Regions from separate parts of the Homo sapiens genome. Here all the other regions are linked to region 1. Evidence: promoter capture Hi-C in 16 types of primary human blood cells and fetal thymus (Javierre and others, 2016). All regions are on one chromosome and are shown on one strand. Each heading gives the region's core, a stretch centred on a gene start or on the middle of the fragment in contact. The rest is flanking DNA. Distances are from core to core; before and after follow the strand shown. Region 1 holds the start of AKIP1 (A-kinase interacting protein 1). Region 2 overlaps ZNF143 (zinc finger protein 143). Region 3 overlaps ZNF143 (zinc finger protein 143).

Evidence for each region. Contacts are between HindIII fragments. The CHiCAGO score rates a contact against its expected background, and 5 or more counts as called.
Region 2: a fragment that was not itself captured here is called in contact with the fragment with the promoter of AKIP1 in region 1 in 1 of 17 cell types (fetal thymus); the score reaches 5.8 in fetal thymus.
Region 3: a fragment that was not itself captured here is called in contact with the fragment with the promoter of AKIP1 in region 1 in 1 of 17 cell types (naive CD8 T cells); the score reaches 5.2 in naive CD8 T cells.

The regions. Positions count from the first base shown.
Region 1 is chr11:8,909,820-8,912,525 of GRCh38, forward strand. It overlaps AKIP1 (A-kinase interacting protein 1), which reads left to right and starts at 1,370. Exons shown (of 6, transcript NM_020642.4): 1 at 1,370-1,404; 2 at 1,625-1,852; 3 at 2,634-2,706. The coding sequence starts at 1,631. It also overlaps a transcript of DENND2B not described here. RefSeq lists a silencer at 1,135-1,414 and enhancers at 1,505-1,574, 1,585-1,674. The HindIII fragment of the contact is 8,527 bases long and covers 1-2,706 here.
Region 2 is chr11:9,510,110-9,512,809 of GRCh38, forward strand. ZNF143 (zinc finger protein 143) reads left to right here. Exons shown (of 16, transcript NM_003442.6): 13 at 2,339-2,487. Among named protein-coding and RNA genes, the nearest start is that of ZNF143, 50 kb to the left of the region's middle. The HindIII fragment of the contact is 2,474 bases long and covers 96-2,569 here.
Region 3 is chr11:9,527,351-9,530,050 of GRCh38, forward strand. ZNF143 (zinc finger protein 143) reads left to right here. Exons shown (of 16, transcript NM_003442.6): 16 at 180-1,174. The coding sequence ends at 263. Among named protein-coding and RNA genes, the nearest start is that of WEE1, 45 kb to the right of the region's middle. RefSeq lists an enhancer at 2,306-2,700. The HindIII fragment of the contact is 622 bases long and covers 1,117-1,738 here.

The DNA of each region.
Region 1 (2,706 bases), core at 120-2,619:
AACCACAGAGGAGACTTAAAGGAGGATTTATTTGTGTTCCTTAAAGTGACCCCCACTGAGCGTGTCCCTCAAAGTGGACCTTCCTAAGCATCGGCGCTTTGCTTTGCGCTGGGTGGTGCGGCTGAGTCACTAATTAGCAGTGAGAGCCTGGGCTGTATCTCCTACCAAATAACCAGCGGAGTGGAGTGACAGGTCCTTACTTAAACATGGTTTAAGTAAGCATTCACAGTTCCTTACTTAAACATGGTGCAGTCTTCCTAAAAGATGGAGTCAGACCCCAAGAGAACAGGTCTCCAAAAATATGTGAATCCGTACTTCCCACTGGAGGGGAGAGAGAGCTGCGCTGAGGGATTATGAGAGACCCTACAACTTCTCAGGCGCCCCCTGCCCCGGGGGCCAGGAACATCTGCAGACAGCCCCGCCTCCGTCTCGCCTCAATCCCGAGCTGTTCCCTTCTCCAAAGGCCACCTTGGCAGCCACACAGTTTGGCCTAATCACCTCCTCAAACAAGAGTAGCGACACCCCAAAATGTAGACCAAGCAGAAAGAGGCGCGGGAGGCACTTGCCTTATTCCCCATGATGTTTTTGTTTTGAGACGAAGTCTTCCTCTGTCGCCCAGGCTGGAGTGCAGTGGCGCGATCTCGTCTCACTGCAACCTCCGCTTCCCGGGTTCAAGCGATCCTCCCACCTCGACCCTCCCGAGTACCTGGGACTACAGATGCGCGCCACCACTCCTCCTACTGTGTGTGTGTGTGGACACGGGTTGTCGCTATGTTGCCTACCTAGCTGGTACCCCATAACCACTCCTGGCTAGTGTGTGTGTGTGTGTGTGGACACGGGTTGTCGCTATGTTGCCTACCTAGCTGGTACCCCATAACCACTCCTGGCTAGTGTGTGTGTGTGTGTGTGTGTGTGTGTCTACACGGGTTCTCGCTATGTTGCCTACCTAGCTGGTACCCCATAATTTTTTAGCTCAACAGGAGACCTGCCTTTATACCCACCAAGTTAAGCAGCGCAGTAGCCCTCTAAGGGCCAGCCCCACGCCCAGAGGCTCCTCTGACAGCGTGGACAGATGCCCTGGGCTGCTGGCTCGACTCAGTCCTCAGCCCCCAGCCCCCGACCCCCGACCCCCGGCCCCCGACCCCCGACCCCCGGCCCCCAGCGCCCGGCGCCCCGCCTCCAGCGCTCAGCAGTTAACCAGGCAACTCGCGCGCAGACGCCAAGGCTGGGACGCAGAAGGCGTGTTTGGCCGCCCAGCCGCCCCGCCTCCCCCACTTCTCCCGCCTCTCCCGCCTCTCCCGCCTTCCGCCAATGGCCCAGCTGCGCCGGCGCCGCCGGGAGCGCTAGGCCTGGTCCCTCTTCCTAGAATAGCGTTGCGCGCATGCGCCTTGACGAGTGAGCCGGGTGAGGGGGCTCCCTAAGTAGCGGAAGGGGTAGATGAAAATGGAAGGGGCGGGCGCGCTAGGCCTAGTCCTGGCTGGGCTCCCGCTGGAGTGTGCGTTGGGGGCGGACCAGGAGCGGTGGTCTCCAGGGAGGTCGAGGCTGGGGCTCCCACCCGGATTTGGAGCAGGGTCGCCGCGGCCCAGCTGACCCGCCGGCGTTTGTACGTTGTGTGCCCACTCAGGGAGCCATGGACAACTGTTTGGCGGCCGCAGCGCTGAATGGGGTGGACCGACGTTCCCTGCAGCGTTCAGCAAGGCTGGCTCTAGAAGTGCTGGAGAGGGCCAAGAGGAGGGCGGTGGACTGGCATGCCCTGGAGCGTCCCAAAGGCTGCATGGGGGTCCTTGCCCGGGAGGCGCCCCACCTAGAGAAACAGCCGGCAGCCGGCCCGCAGCGCGTTCTCCCGGGAGAGGTGAGGGTCGCTGTGCCGGGGGCCGCCCCAGTCCTTCGCGCCGCGGTAGCCCGCTGGGAGCCAGGGGTGCGCAGCGCAGAAGCAGCTGAGGAAACCTTCCCTTAGCGGAAGCTGGAAAGGATCAGAACAATGAATGGAAAAGTCCTTTCAAAACGCTTTACATTTGACAGATTCTTGTTGGGTAGCTGTAGAATAACGGTAGTGTTCAGCCCTGGTTGGTTACTTAAAAAAAAAAAAAAAAATTAGCCGGGCGCGGTGGCTCATGCCTGCAATCCCAGCACTTTGGGAGGCCGAGGCGGGCGGATCACCTGAGGTCGGGAGTTCGAAAGCAGCCTGACCAACATGGAGAAATCCCGTCTCTACTAAAAATACAAAATTAGCCGGGCGTGGTGGCGCATGTCTGTAATCCCAGGTACTAGGGAGGCTGAGGCAGGAGAATCGCTTGAACCCGGGAGGCGGAGGTCGCGGTGAGCCGAGATCGCGCCATTGCACTCCAGCCTGGGCAACAAGAGCGAAACCTCCGTCTCAAAAAAAAAAAAAAAAAAAAAATCTTACAGCTATCATCTGATAGTAGAGGAAAGCCTGCAAGCCTGTCTCTTAGATCCTGGATAAATTGCATGTCTATCTTTTAGAGTTGGAATTCTTTCTCAATAACATCGTTCTTTCTGACATAAACTTGCAGAGCCTTTCCAAAAGTAAAAAGGAGACTATTTCCAAAATGGCTTCATTCTCCAGTAGGGAATCCTAGAGCTAACCTGTGACGTGCCATTTATTCAAATAGAGAGAAGAGAGACCCCCAACCCTTAGTGCTTCCTTCAGAACAATGGCTGAATTCATGGACTATACTTCAAGTC
Region 2 (2,700 bases), core at 83-2,582, 600 kb after region 1:
TTCCTATATTCTTTTTTTTTTTTTTTTATTTTTGAGATGGAGTCTCGCTCTGTTGCCCAGGCTGGAGTGCAGTGGTGCGATCTCGGCTCACTGCAAGCTTCGCCTCCCGGGTTCATTCCATTCTCCTGCCTCAGCTTCCTGAGTAGCTGGGACTACAGGCGCCCGCCACCATGCCTGGCTAATTTTTTGTGTTTTTAATAGAGACGGGGTTTCACCGTGTTAGCCAGGATGGTCTCGATCTCCTGACCTCGTGATCCGCCCACCTCGGCCTCCCAAAGTGCTGGGATTACAGGCGTGAGCCACCGTACCCAGCCCAGAAGTTCCTATATTCTAGAAAATAGTCTATAATATAATAATATACATTTTATTTAAAAACAAAACTAAACTAAGATTGTTTTTCCAAGAATAGGGATGGATTTCTGTTTTCTCTCACATGATCCACTGGGTTTTGTAACCTGTTGGAATAATGGTATATAAATAGCTGTGGAACAGAACAAAAAGGAATGAAGTAATGTCTGTCATGGAAATTACACGTTGATGACTGTAGCCATATGAGTGCATGGATTAACCACTGAATTGAGAAGTACTCTTAGATTAGCATATTATGTCCTTTGAGGGGGAAACATTTTTTTTTTGCTCTCTTTCTGACTTCATGGGAGGTAGAAAGTGATGAAAGACGAGAGGGACCAGGAATCTTCCTGGTTGACAATTATAGTAGTAATGGATTGTTGAAATTGCTGTTTACTTACTGGTTCTTTATGAAATAAAGAAGTGATGGAGGTTCCTTTTATGTCACTAAATTATTAACCATACCTCAGATAATATGCCATACATTGTCTTTACACAGTGAGGTCATTGTGTACTGATGGTTTGCAATCAATCAGTTGTGCTAAAGACCAAGTTTAGTATCAGTGGGTGTGTTTGCAAACCATTCTGGCTTTGTGGTTAATGTTTATGAAAATGAAAATAGTCTTAACCACTTTTAACAGCTTCTTTTTTTTTTTTTTTTTTTTTTTTTGAGACGGAGTTTCGCCCTTGTTGCCCAGGCTGGAGTGCAATGGTGCCATCTCGGCTCACCACAAGCCCTGCCTCCCGGGTTCAAGTGATTTCTCCTGCCTCAGCCTCCTGAGTAGCTGGTATTACAGGCATGCTCCACCAGGCCCGCCTAATTTTGTGTTTTTGTTTGTTTGTTTGTTTTTGTTATTGAGACAGAGTCTTGCTCTGTCGCCCAGGCTGGAGTGCAGTGGTGCAATCTCGGCTCACTGCAAGCTCCGCCTCCTAGGTTCACACCATTCTCCTGCCTCAGCCCCCTGAGTAGCTGGGACTACAGGCGCCTGCCACCATGCCCGGCTATTTTTTTTTTTTTTGTATTTTTAGTAGAAATGGGTTTCACCGTGTTAGCCAGGATGGTCTCGATCTCCTGACCTCATGATCCGCCCGCCTTGGCCTCCCAAAGTGCTGGGATTACAGGTGTGAGCCACCATACCCGGCCTTGGTTTTGTATTTTTAATAGAGACGTGGTTTCTCCATGTTGGTCAGACTGGTCGCGAACTCCCAACCTCAGGTGATCTGCCCACCTTGGCTTCCCAAAGTACTGACTGGGATTACAGGTGTGAGCCACTGTGCCTGGCCTTTAACAGCTTTTTTTTTTTTTTTTTTTGAGACGGAGTCTTGCTCTGTCGCCCAGGCTGGACTGCAGTGGCGTGATCTCGGCTCACTGCAACCTCTGCCTCCCGGGTTCATGCCATTCTCCTGCCTCAGCCTCCCGAGCAGCTGGGACTACAGGCGCCCGCCACCATGACCAGCTAATTTTTTGTATTTTTAGTAGAGACGGGGTTTCACTGTGTTAGCCAGGATGGTCTCGATCTCCTGACCTCGTGATCCACCCACCTCAGCCTCCCAAAGTCCTGGGATTACAGGCATGAGCCACCGTGCCTGGCCTAACAGCCTCTTAAGTGAATGCGAGAATTTAGTGCATACTTGCTGTATTTGAAGGGTTATTTGCTAGTTTTCCTGTACAGTTCCTCCCCTCTCCGCCCCTAATACACATATAGTATCAAGTAATTACTCCAACTAAGAGAATAAAACAGGTCCCTGAAAATCAGAACACTTAAATTTGATGCAGAAAGATTTTTTGTTTGGTCTGCTTTGATGTAGTTTGCCTTTGCAAAAGTGGAGGTGGAGGAATTGGAAGGAGGTCCTGGAAGCCATTTTCGTGACTTAGAATATAATACATGTACATTTTAATTATGTAATTTTCTCTTTAATATTTAAAATGTCCTATTTTCTAAACAAATTGGTTGGTTGGTCAAATAAATGATTCATTTGTTTTAAACAGGTCAAGGTGAAGATGTTCTTAAAGGGTCCCAGATTACGTATGTTACAGGTGTAGAAGGGGACGACGTTGTTTCTACACAAGTAGCCACAGTAACCCAATCTGGACTGAGTCAACAAGTTACACTCATATCCCAGGATGGGACTCAGCATGTAAGTATCCACCAAAAGCCAAACAAATTAAATCTTTCTGTGAACCTGGGCTTGAAAGGCAGGCTGGGTCCCCATTGAGGAAAGCTTTGAAATATCAGGGCACAAAGTTTGGAAACCCTGAGGTTTTTCAGTAGTCTGCTTACAGAGACTACGTGCAGAGAGATTAGGAGAGAGAGAAGGTTTGTGACTGTAGAATCCGAATGGTATTCTTGG
Region 3 (2,700 bases), core at 178-2,677, 620 kb after region 1:
TCTCCCCTGCAGGAAATTGTTTTGTTCTCTTAATGTTTGAGTTAGCAGTAGTATTTTAACAATCCCAAGTGTCAGAATTACAGAGAGAAGTTTCACTTCTGGCATATAACATTTCTTTGGCATTTTCTTGACTGTGGCTTTTGAATTGTTAGCGTTTGATGTGTGTGTTCCTGTTTCAGCTTGGAGAACAGCCATCTCTGGAAGAAGCCATCAGAATAGCGTCTAGAATCCAACAAGGAGAAACGCCAGGGTTGGATGATTAATCCTCAGAACAATGGAGCAATAAAGCAGAAGGAGTCTTTCATCTTCTGGCAGCAGAAATCCATGAAGCCCGGGCCCAGGAAAATTAGAAGTTTTCCATTCCTGATACACTGTACACATTTTTATGCGAGAGTGGAGAACATTTTATTCTTGACACTTTTGTGTATATAACCCTTGGAATAGATTCTCAGAGTGATTCATTGTGTACAAGGAAGTATGAAATTAGGGCAATACAGTAAATTTTCATGTTACTCTTTTATCAGATCACAAACTCCTAGAGTCTACATGCAAGACTAGTAAAGTCTTATGGAGTCTTATGATGGATTTTTAACTTCCCGTGGAAAAAAAAATAAAGGCTGTATCTAAAATATCAAAGGTTCTATATGTCACACAATCGTAATTCCAAAAGCCATTATGGATAATAAAGGGTGTAAAGCCTTCAGATATTTCCCCAGTTAGTAGAGTGTCTGCGGTTTTTGTTCTACTATATGCTTGTCCATTTTTATTTGTATCTCATGGTTTGCAGACTGTTTGAATAATTTATAGTTTCCCATCCCTGTTAAAAACCAGCTCTTCAAGCTGAAATGCTAATTATATTGGCATTACATTGAATTATGTACAAAATTATAAAATTTGGTTATTTAAAATTAAAAAGTTAAATCCAGTGGTTTTGTTAAAGATTTTGCTTAGTATTCAATTTTTATTACTGTTTTTTAAAAATAATGAATCATCAAAGTTTAACCACAGGCTGGTGCCCGGGATAACAGTACTGTAATTGGAAATGGCTTTACTCTGAAAATTAGGTTAGTGGGTTGGTGTAAATTATTTATTTTTGCTTATGTACTTTTGTTTTAAAGCTTATTTACCCCAAAGTTTATTATTAATTTTGAATACAGCAATTTTTAAAATGTTACTTTTATATTTATTTATTTATCATATTGGTGGGGGGTTGGGGGGAAATGGTGCAGAAAATATCGCAAATGTAATGGAATGTAACCTAATACACATATTGAAAGGATGTTGTTTATCAAGTACAGAGTAAGTGCTTTTCCATATATTTTTATATATTCACAACAATTTTGTGAGACATATGGGATTTACTACCTCCGTTTTTTACATGAGGAAACCAAGAGTCCAGGAGGGAGGCTGACTGTCGTACCAGCCCTCACAGCTATGGAGAGGCAGGACCAAGACGAGAACCCAGACTTTCTGGCTCCAAGTCTAGTGTGTTTTCACTGCACCACAGTTACCTCCTCAAATGCTCATTTGTGGCAGAGATTATCAAGATGAACTTTGGTGATTTCTGATTGCCTAATGAATTGAGCAGTATAAAAACCATTTTCTAATGCTGGAAAATCAGCGTTCACCAAGGTCAAAAAAAAAAAAAAAAAGATGGTGTGTTCCGCAGCAGCCCCTCCTGCACTGTAGTTCAGCGAGCTTTATTTGCAGAGAGCTGAAATGTGGCTTTTTCATTTCAAGCTTTACAGTAGAAAGGGGAAAACGTTGTGCTGTTTGATTTTACATAAATGTTATCTTTGATCAGGTTCTATGATCTTGCTAAAAAGGATGGTGACTTACTTGAAATCGGAAGCCCTTCAGGGTTGGGCAGAACTTTTCCTGCAGAACCCTTTACAGATGCATAACATTAGCAAAAGCCCTAGTCAACCACCGATCGAGTCTTCATTCTTGACAGAGACACAGACCCACACAGAACTCCCCCCGGAAGCCCACTGAGGCTCAGAAAGGGGCTGTTGGGCGGGGTAGAAGACCAGAATCTGCAAAATCGCAGGCAGGGTGGCGCCCAGCCTCCCAGTGCTGGTCCTGGCTGCTGGCCAGGAGCTCCTCCCCACTGGGCCCAGCCAGGCTGCTGTACTTCCCAGGACCAAAAACCAAGCTGTCAGCCTCCCATGGCCCCTTAGATCTGACTTTGCTCAAATTCCAGGGTGTTTCTCTTTACTCCCAGCACCTTTGCCAGTTGGATTGGGCAGGGCTTAACCTGGACTGTTTTGGTTAGCCTGATTATCCCTCAGCTCAAAAGAAAATGACCTCTGGCACCCAGAGAAAAGGGCCTAGGGTCGCTGCTAGTTTAACCTGACCTGCCTTCTTGGGAATGGGGCCTCAGGAGCCTGGCAAGGTGGCCTGTTTCCTCCAGGGGAAGGGTGCAGTTGGTGTGCTGACAATTGCTAGGAAAGCTGCTATAGGGTCTCTTCACAGTGCAGGACATGGAAACGTCCAAGGTTGAAAAATCCCAAAAAGACACTTGAAATAAGAGTAAACGCTAGCAAACAGAACCAGGTGGGGCATAACCCTCTGGAATTTGATCCAGACAGTGCTCAAGGAAAACCTCTCCGTCCAAAAAAACCACCCTGCTTTGCCCCAGACAAAGCTTGAGGCCACTACAAAGAAAATGTGCCCTAGTCTGAACTCAAAAGAACTTAG